Regions from separate parts of the Homo sapiens genome. Here all the other regions are linked to region 1. Evidence: promoter capture Hi-C in 16 types of primary human blood cells and fetal thymus (Javierre and others, 2016). All regions are on one chromosome and are shown on one strand. The core of a region is centred on a gene start or on the middle of the fragment in contact, and the rest is flanking DNA. Distances in the headings are between cores, read along the strand shown. Region 1 holds the start of TMEM31 (transmembrane protein 31). Region 2 holds the start of RAB40A (RAB40A, member RAS oncogene family). Region 3 overlaps LINC02589 (long intergenic non-protein coding RNA 2589).

What was found. The method cuts DNA at HindIII sites, captures the fragments that hold promoters and counts their contacts. A CHiCAGO score of 5 or more calls a contact.
Region 2: the fragment with the promoter of RAB40A here is called in contact with the fragment with the promoter of TMEM31 in region 1 in 11 of 17 cell types (megakaryocytes, activated CD4 T cells, M1 macrophages and 8 more); the score reaches 8.0 in megakaryocytes.
Region 3: a fragment that was not itself captured here is called in contact with the fragment with the promoter of TMEM31 in region 1 in 11 of 17 cell types (naive CD8 T cells, non-activated CD4 T cells, fetal thymus and 8 more); the score reaches 8.8 in naive CD8 T cells.

What each region holds. Positions count from the first base shown.
Region 1 is chrX:103,708,398-103,713,091 of GRCh38, forward strand. TMEM31 (transmembrane protein 31) reads left to right here and starts at 2,512. Exons shown (of 3, transcript NM_182541.2): 1 at 2,512-2,679; 2 at 3,839-3,963. The coding sequence starts at 3,862. It also overlaps the pseudogene GLRA4. The HindIII fragment of the contact is 10,178 bases long and covers 1,911-4,694 here.
Region 2 is chrX:103,517,451-103,522,144 of GRCh38, forward strand. RAB40A (RAB40A, member RAS oncogene family) reads right to left here and starts at 2,039. Exons shown (of 3, transcript NM_080879.3): 1 at 1,920-2,039; 2 at 1-75. It overlaps LL0XNC01-250H12.3 (a long non-coding RNA gene), which reads left to right. Exons shown (of 6, transcript NR_188440.1): 6 at 198-493. The HindIII fragment of the contact is 4,467 bases long and covers 1,114-4,694 here.
Region 3 is chrX:103,549,621-103,554,314 of GRCh38, forward strand. All of the region lies in intron 1 of LINC02589 (long intergenic non-protein coding RNA 2589), which reads right to left. Among named protein-coding and RNA genes, the nearest start is that of LINC02589, 3.0 kb to the right of the region's middle. The HindIII fragment of the contact is 205 bases long and covers 2,239-2,443 here.

The DNA.
Region 1 (4,694 bases), core at 1,262-3,761:
TTCAAAGATGGTGGTAATTTCTTAAAGTATTCATGGTTTTAGAGTCAAAGTTTCAGGTATCTAAGAAATCACCTGAAGTGCAATGGCCTCTTGGAGGACGATGCAAACTGTCATCTCGGTTTGTCCAGAACGGAAGGTGTTCCTAAGACTTGGGTCTTTCAGGGCTGAAACTGGGGAAGTGCAAGGCAAATCAGGAAGAGCTGGTCATCCTGTGGCTACCTGAGGTATTTATTATAAGTTATAAGAAAAAAATATGTGTATATTGTATAGGTATGACATAGATATATACAAAATGTGGATAAAGTAGATTTTAAACACTCTGTCTCTCTCAGTTAGAGGGACACCACAGGGTCTTTATCGTGGGACCTCTGCAGCTATGGCAACACACTGAAAAGTGGCTTTGCCAGGCACGGTGGCTCACACCTGTAATCCCAACACTTTGAGAGGCCGAAGCTGGCGGATCACGAAGTCAGGAGTTCGAGACCAGCCTGACCAATATGGTGAAACCTCTTCTCTACTAAAAATACAAAAATTAGTCAGGCGTGGTGGCGGGCACCTGTAATCCCAGCTACTCAGTAGGCTGAGGCAGGAGAATCGCTTGAACCCACGAGGCGGAGGTTGCAGTGAGCAGAGATTGCGCTATTGCACTCTAGCCTGGGTGACAGAGCGAGACTCCATCTCAAAAAAAAAAAAAGAAAAAGAAAAAAAAAAAGAAAAGTGGCTTTGTGTATGAGATGTTGGTGTTGTAGGTCCTAGTAACCCTTGATAATGACATGACTAGAAACTGACCTGTCATCATAAAGACAGGCCTTGGTTCACCTCACATGTACTCTGTAATTCATTTTTACACTATTCTGACAAAGGAGGTTGTGCTGGACCCATTTTCGAGGTGAAGAACCAGAGGCAAACAAAATATTTTGCAATAATTTTAAAATGAGGGGAGTAAGTAAAATGGTTTTCTCCTTTGATTTCCAGTTCAGGGTCCCTCAGATGACCCTGTTGCCCAGTACTCACCCTGATCCCCTGAGCCCTACCCTGGCTAGAGGATGTAAGCAAAGGATGTTGGCAAAAAAGCTCTGAGGGGGAAAGTTGGATCCAACTGCTATTTCTGTTTCTATAGATCTAATTATTTTCCCTTTTCTCCAATCATAATAAATCTAAAGGGAGTTATTTGGACACATTTCCCAGGCTGGAAAAAGCCATTTCACACAGGAGAGAAAATATGGCCAACAGAGTAAGCTGGTCTTGGCTTTTTGTGACTTTAACATACTGCACCTGTTGTAGCTGGAGGAGCAAAGATGAATGGCTTGAAATCCAGGGGTGGGGCATCCTGCATTTGGGTATTCTCTATTTAGGCCAAATTCTGAGGGGTGTTTGTGTGTGGGGTGTGTGTGTGTGTGTGTGTGTGCTGGAAAGGAACATTGGAGCCTTAAATACCACTTTGTGGCTTACATGCCTATTAAAATAGAACTTTTTTTCCCCTGGCTATCTATAGGGGAGAAGGACTGAGAAGCTAGAGAGGGAAGATATCTCAAAACCACGCTAAGGAGGGAATGCACAGTGTAGGAGGTAAAGTGTGGAGATGGGAAAGAGTGATTTGTATTGAAGTGAGAGGGGCTAGAAAAAAAGGGATTAGAGAATGGGGAATGAAGAGGGTGCTGGAGGATGAAGAGAGGTGGGCAGGGTTCTGGGACCAAGCCCTTGAGAGGACTGGGCAGTATTTTGAAATTTCTTCCAGTTATCAAGTTATTCTATTGATCATGGCAAAGCTTTTGCTCTGTCCAGTTTGAAAGACAGTCCTCTCCAATCAGCCTGTAAAAGTTGGTGAGCTGGGTTACATGACTGCTGTGTCCAGAGCCTGGTGCTAAGGCCTGCTGAGGAGATGAAAAAGAGCTTCCCTTTCCTGGGGAAGCTTATGGACTAGCCGGGAAGACAGTGTAGGATTGCATGGGTAAAAAGTAAACCACTTTAGGCAGTGACATGAAAGGGGGCCACCATGCTATGGAGTTGTTGGTTGAGGAGAGAGTTGAGAAGAAAAGATGTGAATGGCTGGCTGGTTCCTAGAACACTCCTAACTGACTCTTGGCTAAGGGTTCCCTGGAGATCACATGGATTTTCTCCCTGCCCTCTCAGACTGAAGAATTCTTTTTCCCTAGCTGGAGCAGTAGGGCCCGGACAGAGGTTCTAGAAATGGATGAACTCTCCAACAATTTTTTCAGCCTGCTTGGTGCCTCCAAAATACCTGCTACAGGTCCTGGGATAACAGTGACTTTAGAAGACTCAAAAAAGGACATGACGAATGGCACGGGTTTGATTTTCAGTTTTATTCACGTTAATAATAATAATAATTCACGTTAAAAAAAGCCTCAGCCCACTTTTAGGCAGGCCCCAGAGTCCTAAGCAAGGCCCAGGCTGCTGTTGTAACTTTGTAATAATTGAGCACTGGTCATGACAGACTCCATTATGAGCTCAGGATCAGCCTATATATATGAGCAGGAGGGGACAGGCTGCAGGCAGTTGCGGGTTGCAGGAGTTCAGGAAAGGAGGTGGGACTAGAGTCAACCTGGAATAGCTCTACAGTAACAATGGCAGCCTTTTTGTTGCTGGGACATCCATACAGGCAACTTAGCTGGTGAAAGGACTCTGGATTGGTTGGCAGTCTGCTTTTTTTTTTCCAAGGTAGGCATTGAGAAGGCACCAAGATCAAAACTCCTATAAAGATAAGATCTTGGTACCTGCAGGCAGATTTGTTCGACACAGCTAAAGAGGGGGTGGGGACAGTTAGCTTAGAAAATGGAGTGTCCTGGCCGGGCGCGGGGGCTCACGCCTGTAATCTCAGCACTTTGCGAGGCCGAGGCGGGCGGATCACGAGGTCAGGATATCGAGACCATCCTGGCTAACACGGTGAAACCCTGTCTCTACTAAAAATACAGAAAATTAGCCGGGCGTGGTGGCGGGCGCCTGTAGTCCCAGCTACTCAGGAGGCTGACGCAGGAGAATGGCGTGAACCCGGGAGGCGGAGCTTGCAGTGAGCCCAGATCACGCCACTGCACTACAGCCTGGGCGACAGAGCGAGACTCCGTCTCAAAAAAAAAAAAAAAAAGAAAAAAGAAAATGGAGTGTCCTTTTTTCTTGCCCTTCTGCTAGGTGTATACACATATTTTTCTAACCCTTGGTATGGGTTAGGAAATGCTTTTAGGTTTCTTGAAGAATGAGTCCTACTCGAGGACATGTAGTTGTGGATTAGTCCACTAGAGGGCGTACTGCCCAGGGACCAACTAAAGGACTAAAGGGTAGGGACTGATAAATTCAAACCACTAGATGAGACAGGAGCCCTGCCCTCAGCAGAAAGGAACCTTAGCAAGGGACATGAAACCAAGGAGGTAGTTTGTGAGATATTTTTAGTGCGGACATACGGTAGGGGTGCCCCTGGAGCAGCTGAGGTGGGAGGTGGTGTGTTGAGGAGAGAACATTCCTTGTGCTAGTGTGGCCCAGACAAGCTAGAGTCAGGATTTTAAGAGTGGGTTCACAGCATTGTTTCCCATCCCCCAGAGGTCATTATGCTCTTGCCTCTCTGGCTTTAGAGCCTCCAGATTAGACAGAAAACATGGAGTCAGAGCTGAAGACAGACCAGAACTCTGTGTCTCTAATGGTTAAGCAACCAGTATGTAGCTCAGTTAAGCCTTTCAGCTTTGCTCATAATTGGACACTTGCTTCTGTGAGGCTGGCCCAGGCACCTCTGTTGTCATGACAACTTACCTAGCACCTATTGTCTGGGCAATTGGGGGTAAACTGCCTCTGTTGTCATGACGACAAGATTTCTTTTATATTTCCCCAGGTGATCACTTTACTGTAGAAGAAATGAGGTTAACAGAAAAGAGTGAGGGAGAACAACAACTCAAGCCCAACAACTCTAATGCACCCAATGAAGATCAAGAAGAAGAAATCCAACAGTCAGAACAGGCAAGTGGTGGTTTCTCAATTCCAACTTAGTTATGGGGGTCCTCTTATAATGCTCCCCTAGAAAGACACCAATGCCTGATTGTTGAATTCTTAACCACCAATTAGTGTATGACAACCTGGGCTACCTTCCTCCCGGTTGTGGGGGAGCAATTACTACTCAAAGCAATCTCTTTTTATTTATTTATTTATTTACTTATTTTTTGAGATGGAGTCTCACTCTGTTGCCCAGGCTGGAGTGCAGTGGTGTGATCTCAGCTCACTGCCAGCTTCAAGTGATTCTCCTGCCTCAGCCTCCTGAGTAGCTGGGATTACAGGTGCCCACCACCACACCGGCTAATTTTTGTATTTTTAGTAGAGACAGGGTTTCACCATGTTGGTCAGGCTGGTCTCGAACTCCTAACCTTGTGATCCACCCGCCTTGGCCTCCCAAAGTGCTGGGATTACAGGCGTGAGCCCCCGTGCCTGGCAAAGCAATCTCTTATTAGCTAACTTGGTAAGGTTCTACTACTAGCTAACATATCTTCAGTGCTTATTCTATGTCAAGCAGTGTGCCCATGCCCTTAATCAATCTACTATACTGACTTACAGAATCAAAGAGATTAAAGTAATCAAAGAGATTAAAATCAAAGAGATTAAAGTAATCAAAGAGATTAAAGTAATCAAAGAGATTAAAGTACTTAGCTTAACAGTGACCAGCTTAGTACTAGAATCCAGGTTTCTTTCTTTCTTTC
Region 2 (4,694 bases), core at 789-3,288, 190 kb before region 1:
TCATTATTATTCTTTGCTCTTCTGTACTATTTCTTCCTCCCATGGCTCAATAAGAACTCCTTCACCCACGTCACACTAGAAAGAAAATAAGAGAGCAGAGAGTACATGGAATCAAAGGAATGATAAGATAAAACCAACATTCATTTATTGCTACTATATTTCTAAATGCTCTCTGTTTCAAATCTTCTATTTCATAGGGCACAATTATTTTATCTTGGAACCAACAATCTTCGGAGAATGTATCCCAAAGATACAATTCAAAAAGATAAAAAGGCAGAAGCACAAGGTCATTCTTGGCAGAACAAATTGTAACAGCAGAAGACTGGAAATAAGACAGATGTCCACCAATAAAGGACTGACTGAATAATCTAAGGTGCATCTACATCCTAGATTTCAATGCCGGTATAACAAGCAAGGAAGATTCCCTCTCTCTGCTGCTATGTAGTGATTTCCAGGATATACCATTAAGTGAATAAAGCAAAGTGCAGAAAAATGTGTAGAGCTGCTGTTGTCCCATACCATACCCACTGGCCACTCATGGCTATTTAAGTTAACTAAATTTAAATGGAATTTTAAATTCACTTCCTCAGTCACACTCACCACATTTTAGGTGTTTAATAGTCACAGGTAGCTAGTGGCTACTATGTTGGACAGTTGAGACATAGAATATTTTCACCTTTGTAGAAATTCTATTGGACTCCACCAGTGTAGAATATGTCACCTTATATATATGGAATAGGAGAAAACTAATAGAAACATTCTATTTGCTTATATTTTTAAAATTGGAAAGTTTTAATGAAAATTGATTTAAAAAATCATTACCTATAAAGAGAAGGAAAAACAGCCCAGGACAGAAGCCAATAATGTCTTTTCCCTTAAAAATATAATATATATACACTGGCTCCATGCACTAGAAAGGTGAAGAAACATGATAGACCCAGTAGCAATGAGCAACTCTAGTGCCCATATTGAATCCACTTAAAACACATCACACTGAAAGGAACTAGGTTATCTTAGAGAAATGACTGAGTTTAGGTCTGTGTAGCCATTCTACTAGATGAATCTGGACCAAACTATCATGCCAGAGAGTGCGTCAAAAAGACTCAGAAGCCAAGCTTAAGGGGCTCTCGCTGGACAAAGATGAAGCAATTTGAACATTAAATAAAATAATGACTACTATGGATTAAAACACATTATAATATAAAAACTTCTACAGCTCATGATGACACTCTAAAAGAAAAATAAAATAAAACAAACAATATCAACTCATTGCTTGCCTTTGGAGAACCCTAGGGAAACAACTCATTGTTTTGAAAAGTGGAAATATTGCAAAAGAATTAGGCACTCATCCAACCCTTTCTATACATACTATCCCTCAGTGTAACCTAATGGTTTATGAAAGTTTATTTAATAGAATAATTCCAGCTAATAAAGCAGAGAAAATTATAGAATTAGAATATCATCCTTTTATGACCTTTAATGAATATAGAACTAAGCAACAATCCTTAGACGCTGCAGAAAAATCGAGGTGAAAAAGGGATGGGAAATTTTATAATGGATGGATCAGCTTAACAATACTTGAACATAGTAATTAATCTTAACATCACAAGAGGAGAGACAATTAGACACAATGAGCCCCCTGTGTAACACTATAGGAATAAACAATACCACATATGAAGTACTTCTGACCAAAACAAATCTAAATTGAATCAAGCCTCTGAATCTAACACCATTTTGTTAAATTTTTTTATTATACTTTTAAGTTCTGGGATACATGTGGAGAATGTACAGGTTTGTTACATAGGTATACACGTGCCATGGTGGTTTGCTGCACCCATCAACCCGTCATCTACATTAGTTATTTCTCCTAATGGTAATATAAAAAGAGAAAGAAATACTTGGAATTTGATTTGGAAAACCTTTCTCCTGTAGCCAGTCCACCTCCATGTGCTTGATACAGTTGACACTTCTTACCCTACAGGAGATTATTCAGCCTATCAGCCAATCTAGAAAATAAAATCATGAGGATCCATGTTTGGTGGTATAGGAACTATTAAGTTTATATTGGAACATTTTGCAAAACATGTTAAAATTAAGTTAAAATGAATGTGGCTCGAAATTAGGATTGTAAGATTTCGGATTTCAACTCAGTTTCCACAGAGAAGTTTGGTTGACCTAAATTTTAAATATGTTAGGAATAAGCCCCTGCTGCACATCATTATATTCAAAGTTCTCTGTAGCTTCATTTGTGAAAACAAATGGATGAATGGGTATATATTTGTAAAACATGTCTTTGGGATAAAAAGGCATTTTGAGTTCTTGGTTTTCAGGATGTTCCTTCTGGTATTCTTCAAATAAATGCTTCTATAGTATTATAAAGATAATTTCATTAACCTGCTAAAATGGGAATGTATTTGTCTATAGCTACAAGGTAAAAAGTGTTATGAATAATAATTTTAAGATGACAGATATTAAATAGTTCAAATATTATTGATAATAAGATTTTTTTAAAAAAGAAAATATATGTTCATCCAAAAGAATGAACATGAACATTCATAACACCATTATTCATGAGATGTCAAAAACTGGAAAATACACAAATCTCCATCACAGATAAATATAGTGTGAAATATCCAAATAATATAATACTTTACACCAATGAGAATAAGCAATCTACAATATAGACCACAATAAATATTAATTTCACATACATTATGTTGACTGAAAGAAGCAAGACACAAAAGAGCACATGCTGTATGATTCCAAGAATTTCTCTTCTAACCTCCCAATAGAGATTGGGGCAGGAGAGGAATATCAACAACTCATTTCCTTTTATTTCAAGGTACTTAGTGTCTTTTTATGTTATCTGTAGCTTAACCTCAGATAAGTGAAGCAACTTTCTTCTGAGCCCTTGAAAAGTGATTAATTACACATAAGATGAAAAGCTAATACTATATCTGATGGACAGGCAATGTGGTGTGAGAGATTCGGGCAAGAATCCTAAATGGATGCTCAGTCTGCACCAAATCACACCGCAGTCACTGAGTCACCATGGTAACCATTCTGGCCAAGGAAAGCTGAGAAAAAACAAACACCACTATCCCGAGCTTGTTCCTAATATGTACTAGGAACTAAATAGGATTGACATGATGCACAGTAATTAACCTCAAGTAGTCCTTACAATAAAAATTCCTGACAGCTTCAGTGACATACAAATGTATACATACTCACATACATATATGCTTGCTCACCCTCTCACCACTCCAAATTCCAAGAATTTATTGAGGTTGATTTACTGGTGGGTAAAGAAGTAAATCTCGCCAGGCATGGTGGCTCGTGGCTATAATCCCAGCTACTCAGATGGCTGAGGTAGGAGGATTGCTTGAGGTTAGGAGTGTGAGAGAAGTCTAAACAACATAGCAAAACTCTGTCTCTGAAAAATGTTTTTAAGTTTAGCTGAGCATGGGGGCACACACCTGTAGTCAGTTATTCAGGAGGCTGAGGTGAGAGGATTGCTTGAGCCTGGGAGTTCAAGGCTGCAGTGAGCTATGATTGCACCATTGCACTCCAGCCTGAGCCACACATTGCAACAAAATCATTTCTGACCACACATATAAAGTTGAAAGCTACTAAACTATGTTCTTTTGGTGTGATTTCTGAAGATGACCTGTAGAATTGTCTCTGGAACATTTTCCTCCATAGTTTCAATATATCGCCAATGACTTGTAAAAGCAGATACGGAAATACAGGTAAACACAGGTTAAGGATCAAATACCTTTTCCATCCTAGAGTAAGCTGTGCTTTCAACCAAAAAAATGCCTCACTGATGTTAAACACTTGGTTGCTGATAGTACTGTGAAAATATAGTAATTAGCAATTGTGTTTAACAAACAAAGCCATGTATAGCATCATCAAGAGTATGAAATATTTATGAACAATCTGTCCACAGATGTGCAGTGCCTGTACACTGAACACCACACATCATTGCTGAGAGAATTAAAGACCTAAATAAGTGGAGGACTTACCATGCTCATGGGTCACAAACAATACTGAGAAGATTCAGTATTGTTAAGATGTCAATTCTTCCAAAACTGATCTATAGATTCAGAGCAATTCAAATGGAAATCCTATTAAAAAATTTTTAAAGAAACCGACAGGCTGATTCTAACATTCATATGGACATGTAAAAGACCTAGACTCTATTAGTCTGTTCCCATATTGCTAAAAACAAACACATGAAACTGGGTGATTTATTTTAAAAAAGGGGTTTTCATGGCTTACGGTTCTGCAGGCTATATAGGAACCATAGAGGCATCTGCTTCTGGAGAGGCCTCAGGGAGCTTTAACTCATGGCGAAAGGTAAAGCGGAAGCAGGCGTTTTACATGGCAGGGAAGGTGCTACACACTTGTAAACAACCAGATCTTATGAGAATTCTATTATGAGAACAGAACCAAAGGGAGAAATCCACTCTCACGATCCAATCACCTCCCACCAGTCCTCATATCCAACATTGGGGATTACAATTTGACATGAGATTTGGGTAGGGACACAGTTCCAAACCATATCAACTATGAAGTACAACTTTGATAAAGAACAAAATTAGAAGACAAACACTACCTGATTTCAAGACTCCTTACAAACATACAGTAATCCAGACAGTGTGCTATTGGCATCAAGATGGATTAGTAGATCA
Region 3 (4,694 bases), core at 1,091-3,590, 160 kb before region 1:
TATAAATAAATAGCTGGGTGTGGTGGCTCACACCTGTAATCCCAGCACTTTGGGAGGCCGAGACAGGTGGATCACCTGCAGTCAGTAGTTCGAGACCAGCCTGGCCAACATGGGGAAACCCCGTCTCTACTAAACATACAAAAATTCACTGGGCATGGTGGCGGGTGCTTGTAATCCCAGCTACTCAGGAGGCTGAGGCAGGAGAATAATTTGAACCTAGGAGGCGGAGGTTGCAGTGAGCCAAGATCGCGCCATTGCACTCCAGCCTGGGCGACAAGAGCGAAACTCTGTCTCAAAAAAAAAAAAAAAAAAAAAAACCATATATATCTAACAGTCAAATGTCAATTAATAAATCTAAACAAAGTGACAGAATTATAAAAGCAACCCTGACAACTATCACAGTAGTAAATGATTCAAGCAAGAATCGTAAATAGATTTTCATTCTGCACCAAATCCCATAGCAATCACTGAGTCACCATGGTAACCATGCTGGCCAGGGAAAGCTGGGAGGAAAAAACAAAACAAAACAAAAAACCAACCACCTCCTCGATCTTATTCCTAACATGTGCTAAGAACTGAATAGGACTGACATGATGCACAGTAATTAACCTCAATTTTTTCTCACAATAAACATTCCCGGCAGCTTCAGCAATATACACCTTCATACATACCTAGATACCCACATACATACATGCTCTCTCCCTCTTTTTCTCATCACCCAAGTATCCAAGAATTCATCAAGGTAGATTTGTTTGGGAGTATAAAAAGAAAACTCCACAATTAAAATCTACCCACACACAAAGTCAAGAGCTACAAAACTATTTTATTTTAGTAATTCATTTTTCTGGAGATGATCTTTAGAAAAATGTCTCAGTGACATTTTCTCCCTGGTTTCAGTATATTACCAATGACTTATAAAAGCTGATAGTGGAAACACTGGCAAATGTATGCTGTGATGACTAATTTTATGTGTCAACTTGGCTGGGTCATAATGCCCAGATATTTGGTCAAACGTTATTTTGGATGTTTCTGTGAGGGTGTTTTTGGATGAAATTTACATTTAAATTGGCAGACTAAGTAAAGCAGATTGCCCTCCCCAGTGTGGGTGGGCCTCATCCAGTCAGCTGGAGTCCTAAATAGAATAAAAAGCTGATATCCTCCAAAGAAGAGGGAATTCTGCCAGCTCACTCTTCAGATTTCATCTGTAATATTGGCTCTTCCTGGTTTATCAGTACACCGCCTTTGGACTTTAACTTCAACTCTTTCCTGAGTCTGAAGCCTGCTGGACTCCCCCATCAAATTTTGGACTCACCAAGCGTCCAAAATCACATACACCAGTTCCTTAAAATAAATATCTTTATATGTATATATATAAAGATACATATATAAAGATATATGGATATATAGATATCTTATTGGTTCTATTTCTCTGGAGAACCTTGACTAATACAGACATTAAGTATTAAGCATCTTTTCTATCCTAGAGTAGCCTGTGCTTTCAACCAAAAAGGTTCCCCAGCAGCTAGTATTAAACACTCAGCTTCTGACAATTCAGTAAAAATATAATACATTGAAATTGCAATTGAAAATACTACCATTAGGCCAGGCATGGTGGCTCATGCCTATAATACCGGCACTTTGGGAGGCCAAGGTGGGAGGATTGCTTGGGACCAGGAGTTTGGGACCCACCTGGACAACAAAGCAAGACCCTACCTCTATTAAAAAAATTTTTTTTAATTTTTTAATTAGCCAGGCATGGTGGCATGCACTTGTGGTCCCACCTGCTCGGTAGGCTGAGATGGGTGGATCACTTGAGCCCAGAAGCCCAAAGCTATAGTGAGCTGTGATCATACCACTGCACTCTAGCCTAAAAAAAGAAATACTGCCATTTATAATAGCATCAAAAAGTGTAAAATACCTGAGGATAATCTGTCCACATGTGTGCAAGGCCTGTACATTGAACACCACAAAACATTGAGGAGAGAAGTTAAAGAAGACCTAAATAAATGGAGAGAAATGCCATCATCATGAGTCAGAACACTCAGTATTGTTAAGATATCTACTCTCCTCAAACTGATGTATAGATTCTATGCAACTCCAATAGAAATGTTAGCATATATTTTTAAGAAGAAATCAATAAACTTATTCCAGAAATCATGTGGAAATGCAAATGACCCTAAACTATGAAAAACAACATTGTAAAAGAACAAAGTTGGAGGAAAAACACTACCTAATTTAAGCTTCATTATAAACTTACATTAACCAAAACAGTGCACTATTGCCTTCAAGGAAGAAATGTATATCAAAGGAACAAAGTATAGAGTCCAGAAATAGACCCACAAATATAAGGACAACTGATTTTTGACAACAATGCAAAGACAATTCAGTGCAGAAAGATCATCCTTTCAACAACTTGTGCTGGAACAGGTAGATAACAAAAATAAGCTTTTATCTATACACCACATCATAAAAAACTCAAAGTGGATCATAAAAGAAGATTTAAATTTAAAAGCTAGAACTATAAATTTTCAAGAAGAAAACACAAGAGAAAATTGTTGCAGTCTTGGCTTCAGAGAAGATTTCTTAGATATGACACAAACAGCAACATCCAAAGCATAACAAATTTGGAACTATTCATATATACAACAATATGGATAAATCTAAAAATAATTAGGTCAAATATGTAAAATAACATGAAATTTCAGGATTCCCAAATTCATCATGCCAAGGGAAAAGTTAAGCCTGGGAAATGAATTGTGCAACATTACCAACCTTTGTCCCCAGATAACTGTAATTTCACAACCCTGTGTCATAGCGTAATACATAATCCAGATTCCCACAACAGTAAAAGGCATTATACCTTCCCAGATGACCTTCCTCAAATATTGCTCACAAGGAAATTCCTTGCTAGCCCCTAAATCTTTCAGGATACATATCCCCCTATAAAACCAGCACATGCCAATTGTAACCTTAAGTCTGCAACCTAAGTTTAACTCCTAAAACTGAGTTTTGTTAAATCTTACACTGACAGTGTCAGTTACAAGCTTATCTTTCCAGAACAAAGACAAGATCAATCACTCTTCCACCTACCCTGAAACGAATACATAATTGACTCTTTCCTCTCTCTTTTCAAATCTTATCTTATGTAAAACTCAGATTTACTGACCGCTAATTAGAGCCTCACAAGAATGTAACCATTTGCCTCACTGCCTACCCTCTCTCCCTTTTTCCCTCTTGCTTGCTCTCTGCCCTTAAATACTGAGTTCCCAAACCCCTCTTTGTAAAGCACAAGTCAGAGATGCTCCTGTGACTTGCAGTTTTCCCAGGCATGTCCTCAAACTTTGGCTCAATAAACCTCTAGTGATTGAGACACTTGCCTCAGTCACTTTTTTTGGGGTTAACAAATGAATTAGGTCAGACAAAGGAGAATAAGCATCCTATGATTCCATTTACTTAAAAGGGCAAGAAACAAAAACTAATCTATGGTAAGAGGAGACCAGTGATTGTCCGGGAATGGGACAGGTTGGCATGGAGAGGGAAGCTAGAGACAGATGGAGAGGATTACAAAGGTGCATAAGGAAGCTTTTTGAGGTGATGAATATGTTCATTATCTTGACTATAATATTGGATTCACCAGAGAGAGCATACATATGTTAAAACTTATTAAACTATATATTTTAAACATGTACGGTATATCGTATGTCAACATGGCTCAAAGAAAGTATTTGAAATACATTTGTATAAGTTTTTGATGCAATTAAATCATCCAAAAGATTCCAACTACTACACTCTTGTTATATTACCAGATCATTACTATGTCTGATCAAATTGTTCTGCACTACATACAACCATAATAATCACTTGCAGTGTTTAAATATTTTTGGAAAAGTGGATGTTCATTTCTTTTTGAAGTACAAAAATAAAAATATTACATTCTAAGAAAATAATGATGATGATACTTAAGAGTAACTGTTTACTTTAGGGAACATGGCTTAGTATCATTATAATAGAGCGAATTCTAGGGTAATTCTTATTTCTGAAACTATTAAGGTATAGTAACTGACATTTTAACTAACACTTGCAAAATTTCTGGCTTAAAAAATCATTATAGGATGGAAAAATACCATGGTCACCAGGAGATAATTTATATAATTTATATTACAATCTCAAAATGCTAGAAAGACCTAACGACTGCATATTTCCATATCCATTTGAGAGATACATAGGAATCACTGATGATTATTTATATAGGCAGAAAAATATATGTAAATCTATAGCAAATGCATGTTAAACATCCAGTTGCTTCCCCAAATGAACTATTCATTGCTTTGTGACAATGAAAGGCATCTTTAACATGGGCCTCAGAAGCTACCACAAAGCACATAGCTGCTGATGGAAGGAAATTCCACCTGCTAAACCTCTTCTCCAATGATGAGATCAAAGGAATTTCTCTGCTTGTAGGCTATTTTATAAACCTCACAGAGCTATTCCACAACATGCTTCTGTCCAGATCTATGAGCTCACTTGAGCCAGGTGTCATATCCCACCAGGGATGGAAGTGTTGGGGGTCTCCTTAGTACTGCTGCCCTTCAAATCTGGAGTAGAAGCTTCAGCAGCCATCACGACCCTGATCCTCAAAACCTACCTTCTTCAGACACCTGATATGAGCTCAATCACCTGATGAAGAGCTGCAC